Regions from separate parts of the Homo sapiens genome. Here region 1 is linked to region 2. The links are contacts of gene promoters, found by promoter capture Hi-C in blood cells and fetal thymus (Javierre and others, 2016). All regions are on one chromosome and are shown on one strand. The core of a region is centred on a gene start or on the middle of the fragment in contact, and the rest is flanking DNA. Distances in the headings are between cores, read along the strand shown.

What was found. Contacts are between HindIII fragments. The CHiCAGO score rates a contact against its expected background, and 5 or more counts as called.
Region 1: the fragment with the promoter of TOPAZ1 here is called in contact with a fragment that was not itself captured in region 2 in 4 of 17 cell types (naive B cells, total B cells, activated CD4 T cells and 1 more); the score reaches 7.5 in naive B cells.

Annotation. Positions count from the first base shown.
Region 1 is chr3:44,239,524-44,243,967 of GRCh38, reverse strand. It overlaps TOPAZ1 (testis and ovary specific TOPAZ 1), which reads right to left and starts at 2,082. Exons shown (of 20, transcript NM_001145030.2): 1 at 1,569-2,082; 2 at 1-1,115. The coding sequence starts at 1,914. The HindIII fragment of the contact is 1,559 bases long and covers 934-2,492 here.
Region 2 is chr3:43,521,110-43,525,794 of GRCh38, reverse strand. All of the region lies in intron 11 of ANO10 (anoctamin 10), which reads left to right. Among named protein-coding and RNA genes, the nearest start is that of ANO10, 99 kb to the left of the region's middle. The HindIII fragment of the contact is 2,813 bases long and covers 84-2,896 here.

The DNA.
Region 1 (4,444 bases), core at 833-3,332, 720 kb before region 2:
AGGTATTGTTCTCTGACAGCTTAACTTCAATTCTTCAGATGCACTTCTTAAGTCTTCCCGTGAAGATCTCCTTTCAATATGGTACTCATTAGGTGATTTCCCTATGAAGCTTTTCATCGATTTAAAATCCTCTTTCGATGCCATGCTTTCATAACCTAACGGCTCTGAAGCATTCTCTGTTTCTTCTTTCAAAAGTGGTTCAATGGTTTTCTGAAACACAGCATTTACATGATGTTCAGAACTTGTTTCTTTTTCTACTGTTTCTGGGACACTTAATAAATGATCCATCAAAGAGACTGTATTATGGCTTACTTTTCTCAAAACATTTAAAGGACTTTTAGTCTCTGCTTCTTTACCATCAGCAATCATTTGATTTTCTTGCAACATCAACTCAGACTTGTTATACTCATTAGAGAAGTTCATCTCAGTAACTGTTTCATCTGCTTTTTCAGACAACTTCATCCTTTTCCTGGGTTTTCGCCCAACACTGCTCTCCTCTATTGAATATTTATTTTTTTCATGTTGAAGGCAGGAAAGCAAGCCATTGGTTTTACTTTGGTATAAATCACTCTCTTCTGGTAGTAACTTATTTACTCCCATTACATTTTCTTCTGTTTGTAAGAGCTGAGGAATACTATTTGTGTCACTCTTCTCTGCAAGACTCCTAAGGTTTTCTTTCTTTGAGAAATTTTCTGCTACATGCATACATCCACCATCAGGTTTATATGGCAGGTTGTTTTCATCATTACAACCCTTGGAATGGGGGAAACAATTGCAATCACGTAATTTTAAAACGGAATTATTTTCTACTTCAGGTGACAAGATATTACAAGAATATTTTGGAGTATTCTTGTACAGTTCATCTTGGAATTCAACCTTAATATTTTGTGTAGCCTCATTTTCGGTTATTTTGAGAGGTGGGTTTTCTAAGCTTTTAAGTTTTTTATTTCGAATTCTTCTTTTAATACCTTCTATTATACTTTCCTTACCCAAAGACTGCAAGCATTCCACTGTTTGGAAAGATTCCGAACTGGTTAATGATTCCTTTCTTACCAAGTCAAGCCCTGGCTGTGGATCATCACTTGAGGCTTCAGTAACTTTTCTTTTTTCCTTGGCTGATCAAAACAACAAAATATATCAGAAAAGATTTTATATTGAGGAGGAAAATGCAATTATCATTGAAATTAAAAATTGTGAGGCTATCATTTTTATTTCCCTGAACAGCTGTATGTAAATACACATTTGTTTTTAAATGAAAGCCTTAATTTCTGTTAAGGAATTACATATAAACCTGTATAAATTCTAAGGCAACTGAATAACCCTTATAACATCGTCATCTCATACTAGCCAAAATGGACCACAAGTAGGAATTCCTCCTATCATAATTCTGACCAAGGATTCCTAACAGGGAACACCCCTTTTAAGGAAATCCATTTTTCCCATCTCCTGGTCAACTATGTGCATCAGAAATAACCATGCAGGTTCAAGTTAAAGACTAGTGGTAAAACAAAGATGGAGCACGCTGAGGTACAAGGGCTAAAGGTAAGTGATCGTGGATGCTTTCTTACTGTGTCTTTCCGTTTGCAAGGGGAGTTCAGCCTCCTTTGCTGCTTCTAGGCCTCGCGGGTCTGACGAGTCTGACGGGCTCACCGGGCCCCTGCGCCCCTCCACCTGACGCCTTGCGGCCTTTCCAGCCCCTGATGCTGCAACCGACTTATCACTTTCCACCTCGCCTCTCCCAGGGGTGGCCCGGGCCACCATTCTCCTCTTTTGCTTATTTTCCCGGCACCCCCCGGCCTCAGGGCCACAGCCTCCCGCCGCGCCTGGCCCTGGCGCCTGCCGCTTCTGCAGGTTTCGCACATTGCCTTCAGGCCCTGAGGCCGTCGTGGGGCCCAGGGGTGGAGGTCGTCGCATGTGCCCCGGGGCCGGCCCGCTGGGGCCCCTCTGCACCAGCTCGCAGGAACCCACCGCGGTGCAAACGCTGCTCCCGCCTGGAGGTACCTACTGCCCTCTGACCCACCCCACACCGCCAGTCACCACAGCCCGGGGCCGGAAGCGGAAGTGGGGCGCGTAAGCGGAAGTGGGGCCTCGTGTCTGGGGCCCCGACTGGTGCTTCGGGATCCAACGGGCAGGAGAGCCGCGAGTTCCGTGCCAGCGTCTTTTTGGAGGGCCTCTCGCGGAGCTCCGAGGGAGGCAGTGGCCGCGCCCGATTGCATTGCGAGGGACTGTAGTGGGGCTCATCACATAACAGGCCTCCGTTGGCCCTTCCACTAGGCTGAGCTTCCTGGAACCGTTCAGGGCTCATTCTCCCAGCTGCTGCTCTTCGCGCCTTGGCTGCTCGCAAAGGCCACTGTCAGTGGCTTGTAACTCCACACCAAGTCTCCTAGAAGCCCCTGTCTAACTGTCTTCCTGATATATTCACCCGGATATTCCATATTCCACAGGCACCTCACACTCAGATGGGCAAACCAGCTCATCGCTCCTCACAAGCTTGCTCCTTTCACATAGGTGGATGCGCCACCATGCGCCTAATTGTTTAAGCCAGAAACCTAGAAACCATCAGAGACAACCTTCTTTCTACTTCATCCCTCACATCCACTTTCACTAGATCTACTTGACTGTATTTTGTTTGTCAGCCACTCTCCCGTTTGCCATTACCGTGGCTCTGGCCCTCAGACTTTCTTGACTGACCTACTGCATCAAGCCTCTGAATCCATCCTTGAGCTATTCCAGTCAAACGTCCACCTCCTTGCCAGGCCATGCCTCTCCGATGACAGGAGATCCTAGCACTTCTCAGTTTGACCCTTCATGAACTTCTTTTGCTCAAAGACTAAAACTAACAGAAATCCAAACTCTGGTGTGGTATCTGTGACCCTATCTGATGTGGCCTCTGAAAAATTAACTAGTTTTCTCTTACTGCCACTGTAGGGTAAAAGTTGTGCTTTGATGGAAAACTACATAGAAGTCACCCTTCTGAATTATCTGATTCTGATTCTATGGGAGTTATTTTACAACTCTGTAAATTATAGATAAGCGATAGCAACACAAAATAACGGTCTATAGAAATCCAAATTCTGTCCAATAGAAGTTTAATTGACTTCCCATTTTCACTGTGGAAGAAGCTAGTTTTGCCTCCATTTCCACATTCACTTCATTCCTGGTCTAGAATGTTTGTTGTTTGGACTTACCCTTTGAACCAATGTTTATAAAATCTGCCTGATGGGAGAATATAATCTTTAATACATGTTCATCCATGACAGCCATTATTTTCTCTTTTTTGAAAATTATCTCTTATCACCACACATAGCCTGCCCATAAGCCACGTTGGACTACTACCTGAAGTTCCCCAGATTTCATATACTTTTGTTATGCTTGTGCTTCTGTACCTGACAGTCCTGGAAAGTCTTCCTTTGCTTGTCTGCCTGGTAAACTACATATTTCCCCTTCAAGATTCATGCAAGGATCACCCATCAAGGAAGCCTTCCTGCAACTGTTCTTGCACTTTGAGGGGTAAAGTGTTCCTTCCTGTCTGCGAACACACAGTTCAACTATTTACTTGTGTGTCTCCCTTAGTAGCTTCCTTCCAACCAAGTGCAGATACCTTCCATTAATCTTTGCTTTCTGTGTGTTTAAAGAAGGACCTGGTGAATTTGAATACAATGCATTAAAGAATGGTAGGTATGATGCATAGAGTGTGACTAATATGGCAGTTTGGATGAGAAGCTCAGGTCAAGTATTCTGAGGAGCTTTTATAAAATAGAACTTAAGTAAAAGAGGTGTAAAAGATACAGAAATTATCCTTGTTTCTTTCTCTTTGTAAGTACCCTTAGTAAAAGGAAAATCAGTTTAAGACTAGCAGAATTTATAAAAAGTTATCATAAGCACTTCAGGCTCATTCCACATTCACTTTATGCCTCACTTTATATATCACTTTCCTCATCTGTAAAATGAAATAGTGTGTCCTCAGAGTTCTCATGAGAATTAGATGTGCCAATATTTGTAAAGCAGTTAGAATAATGCCTAGTTGATTATAAACATTAAATAGATTTGTTAAGTAAAAACTTCAACACACACACACACACACACACACACACACACACACACACACACTCTCTCTCTCTGAGTCAGAGTCTCACTCTGTCACCCAGGCAGGAGTGCAGTGGTGTGAACACAGCTCACTGCAGCCTTGATCTCCTGGGCCCAAGTGATGCTCCCACCGTAGCCTCAGGAGTAGCTGGGACTACAGGTGTGCATCACCACACCCAGCTCATTTTTTTTTTAATAGAGATAGAGTCTCCCTATGTTGCCCAAGCAGGCCTTGAACTCCTGGCCTACAGTGATTCTCCCACCTCAGCCTTCCAAAGTGCAGGGATTATAGGTGTGAGCCACCAGACCTGGCCTCAATATATATTAAAAGGTAGACTCTATAGAATTCTGACATTTA
Region 2 (4,685 bases), core at 241-2,740:
TCACAATGGAGAGGAACAAATTTGAAAACTGGGCCACCGCTCTTTGAAAATGCATCAGCTCCCTTCACCACCACTTGCAAGCTTATTTTAGGAACTTAGAAAGAGGAAAGAAGAGAGACAAAACATCTTTCCCTGCCTAATAACTCTATCCCATTTACATTACTTCTTCCCACTAATTATGGTGAAAGTACTTTGTGGTGATGAGAAGGGAAGTTCACTGGCCTCTGACCATGGGGTTAACTGTGCCTCGTGGGGGTGCTCACTTAGCAGATACTTGGGTGCTCACACCTTGTGCTAAGGCTGAGCAGAAGCAGGAATGGTTGTTGGCACTGGAGCTTTATCTAGCATGAACACAAAGCACCAGATAGTCATGCAGATAGATGTAAAAGGATTGAGTTTAGAGTAGGGGAACATGACCTTGTCCGGAGTCTGAAAGGTGTTTTTAAGGAGAAGTATCCAGTAAAATGGAGCCTGAAGTGAGAGATGGGGATGAGGGACTGTGGAGGGAATGCTTTGGGCAGAGAGGATAGCCTGCCCAGGGACCATGGAGTCCCAGAGCTATGAAGATGCAGGAAAGAATGTGAGGTGAGGCTAGAGAGGACACAGAGGCCAGATGACCTGGCTGCACAGGCCACATTGAGGATACCTTTTTCTCACTTAAGAGCCCTGGGCAGTCATTGGTCGGTGGGGGGTAAGAGTATGGCTGTGGTGATGACCTCAACACATTTGCAGTTTGTAAAACCAAAACAACCCTTGTCTTGCTCAACTTGGAGGATGGTTCTCACTCATACCCAGCATGGAGAATGTTTAAGAGGGGTTGGAAGAGTCAGTGAGTTAGGTGGTAACTGCAGTGGTTCTAGGGAAGGATCCTGGTAGATTGGAACAGGACAGGCAGTGACTCTTCTGGAGAGGCATGTACTGGAAGCAGTATTCAGAGTTCTTGGTGCTGTGTTGGATACACTGTGTGTTAGGGGAGAGGAAATATCATGAGTGACTGTAGGTTTCTGGCTTGGGTACTGGAGGAGGGCCAGTTATTGAGATAAAGGATGCTGGAAGAGATCTGTGTTTTGGCAGAAGAGCCCAGATGTGTTCATTGTCCCGCTGAGTCTAAGGTACCTGTGAAACAGGCAAGAGGAGCCCAGTGGGCAGTTGGGTGGACTAGAAACCCAGTTCAGTGAATCATCTGCATCAGTAAATCCATGTTCCCTTTCCTTCCCCCTTTCTCACCTGCCCCAACTGTGCAACACATAATCATTGCACAGGGTACTTGGGGAGGGAAGGAAGCATCTTGAGGAAACCTTCCTGGTCTCTAGGGCCAGGCCAGATTACTGCTGTGGGGTGGACTGTAAATGCAGGAACTGTTGCAGGCATGCTGCAATTACCACTTATAGACAGCTCTCAGGATCTACATGGGAAAGGTAGGGTAGGGGGAGTTAAAAGGAATTGAGTTGGAAACTTGACAAAACTGTTGCCTAAAATTTTCTTTGAATATTTCCCCCAACCAAGCACAATGCTTGTTTGAAGCAAATGACTCAGTTATTCTAGAAAGTCATTCCTTCTATGAGGGATTCGTTTCCTGGTTTTCTTCCTACCTCTTTGGCTATTCCTCCTTAAGCCTGTTCCTGAGCTTCTTCCTGGGCTATTCTTTCTTAAGGTTCCTTCCCAATCCTCTTCTTCTTCATTCAATCATTGGTTAAACTCATCTGCTCATCTCCGTGGCTTCCACTGTAGCCCCTGTGCTCATCTACTCCAGGTGTAGCCCCTAGGTGAGCTTATCTACCCCATGGCTTCCACTGTGGCCCCTGGGTGAGCTTGTTTACCCCATGACTTCCACCTCCACTGTAGCCCCTGGATGAGCTCATCTACTCCATGGCTTACACTCTAGTCTCTGGATGAGCTCATCTACTCCACAGCTTCCACTGTAGTCCCTGGATGAGCTCATCTACCCCATGACTTCCTCTGTAGCCCCTGGGTGAGCTTGTCTACTCCATGGCTTGCGTTACCTTTACGCCTAACAGTGCCCATTGGACATCTACATGTGTATTGTGTATGTATTTACCTTCGTTGCTTTCACTTGAATGTCTCCCAGTGATCTCAAATTGAGCAGTCCAAAGCTGAGTTCATCTACCACCATCCATCTAGTCATAACCAGAACTTGGGGTTAGTCATCCTCACTCCTCACACTCAAACAGCTACTGTCCAGGTGGTTGTTTCATCTAACCCATTTCTTCTCCACTCAGTGCCTTGTGTGTAGCCTTAGGGTAAGCCCTCATTATTCCTTTTCTGAGTTGCTACAGCATAGCATGTTCTTAACTGGCATCCAGGCTCCCCAGTCTTGGTGCTCTCTAATCCATTCTGCTGCTAAAATGATTATTCTGAAACAGAAATCTGATCTTACTCCTTCCTTAAAAGCCTTTACTGCCTCTCTACCATTTTCAGGATTAAAGCCCAGATTTTAGTGTAGTTTTCGAGGCCCTTCATGAAATCATGCAGCTCTTTCCGCTGCTCTCCTCTCTCCACTTTAATAATACTCAGCTCATGTGACTCCTCCAATGGAATGAGCTCTTGCTTACTTGGTATTGTAGGCTGTGCTGTTTCCTCTGCTGAGAACCCCCTTTTCAGGCATACTTAGCTTAAGTTGACAGGTTTGAATATTGGTTTGCCTGAAAGACTGGTGTAATATACATGAGTCATCCTGTTTTATCACTGAACACATAAACCTCTTTCCTGTGTCCAGAGAATCTCTGACCTCATGGCAGATGCCCCCTCCCACTATAGAAGCTGATAATGCAGGTACTCCCTTTCCAGCCTCCCTTGCTTCTGGGGTATGGACGTGGGCACATGATCTATATTGAGCCAGTAATAATTTTTTACCCTAAACTTTGAACTGTAAGCTTTTGGACCCCAAGAGGCAGGTACCATGCAGAATCCACTCAGCTGACAGTAGCTGTGGCAGTGCTATGCCAATGGTGTTGTGCCTGTGTGCAGCCTGGCATCATTGCTGAACCAGCTCTAGATATGACTTTGGACATTGCTCCTCACTGTATGACTGCTCAGCCTGGTTCTTTAGACCTTTTAGAGGGTACGTGAACTACCTGATAACCTTTTAACCAACCTCTTCTTTGCCCAGATACACCAGAATTGGTATTTGTGGCTTGCAAGTAAAAACCCTGCTTGATTCAGTTACATTTCCAGCATCAATACTTTCAAAGACAGAGAGCAGAACACAGTTGTCTATATTAAACTGCAGTGAAATGACAGATCCCTAATGCATAAAGTTGTATGAAGCTCTTGGTTTGTAGGTAAATGAATAGTCACAAGACTTAGGAGGATCTTGTGCTATATATGCAATGACATGATGAAAGTCACAGGGTTTTCCTAGAAAAGAACACCAGAATATTGCTATGATCATAAAGAATGGTGAAAGTGTAGATGCAGAAATAGCTGTAGAGCTTTTTTTTAATGTATTTTTTTATCATGGTAAAATATAATAACATAATTTGCAATTTTAATTATATTGAGTGTGTAATTTAGTCACATTAATTATAGTCACAGCATTGTGCAGTCATCACCACTATCAATTTCCAAAACTTTTTCATTACCCCAAACAGAAATTCTGTACGCAGCAGGCAATGACTCTCCATTTCCCCCTTCCCCTAGTCCCTGGCAACTTCTGCTTTACTTTCTGTCTCTGTGATGTTGCCTGTTCTAGACATTTCATGTAAAGAAAATAATACATTTATTTGTCCCTTTGTGTCTGGCTTATTTCACTTAGCATTATGTTTTTAAGTCTTACCCATGTTATAGTATGTATCAGAACCTCATTCCTTTTTATGGCTAAATAATATGTCATTGTATGCATATACTGAATTCATTCTTCTGTTGATGGACTCTTGGGTTATTTCCACCTTTTGGCTATTTTAGTACAAATGTAAATAATACTGCAGTGAATATTGGCATACAAATATCTGAGTCCCTGCTTTCAATTCTTGTGAGTATATACCCAGGAGTAGAATCACTGGGTCATATGATAATTCTGTGTTTAATTTTTTGAGAAACTTCCAAACTGTTTTCCGTAGCAGCTGTGCCATTTTGCTTTCCCATCAGCAACGTACGAGGGTTTCAGTTTCTCCATATTCTCGTCAACACTTCATTTTCCATTTTCTAAATTATAGCTAACCTAGTGGATGTGAAGTAGTACCTCCTTGTGGTTTTGATTTGCATTTCCCCAGTGATTACTGATGTTGAGCATCTTTTCATATGTCTGGAGCATCTCAACTATATCATTTGTCTCAAGAGCATCTTGATCAGTTAAGTAAAGTTCCATTTCTGTGATTATCATTTTTCCTAGAAGTAAGAGATTGGGGTTCTCTACTATTTATCATTTTATGGCCAGACTCAGCTCTCAAACATAAGGCTTCCCTGTAAATACCATTAAAGGCTTGACAGCAGCATTTTAAAATTTATGCCTTGTTTTCAACCTGATAAGTGATGTGTGTGCAAAACCTGCAGTTAACATCATACTTAATGGTAAAAGGCTGAATGTTTTCTTTTTCTCTAAGATTGGGAACAAGAAAAAGGGTACCTCCCCTTACCACTTACCAGTTTTATTTAGCATTGTCCAGGAAGTTCTAGCCAAGGGAAGTAGATAAGAAAATAAAATGCATGTCGATTGGAAAGGAAGA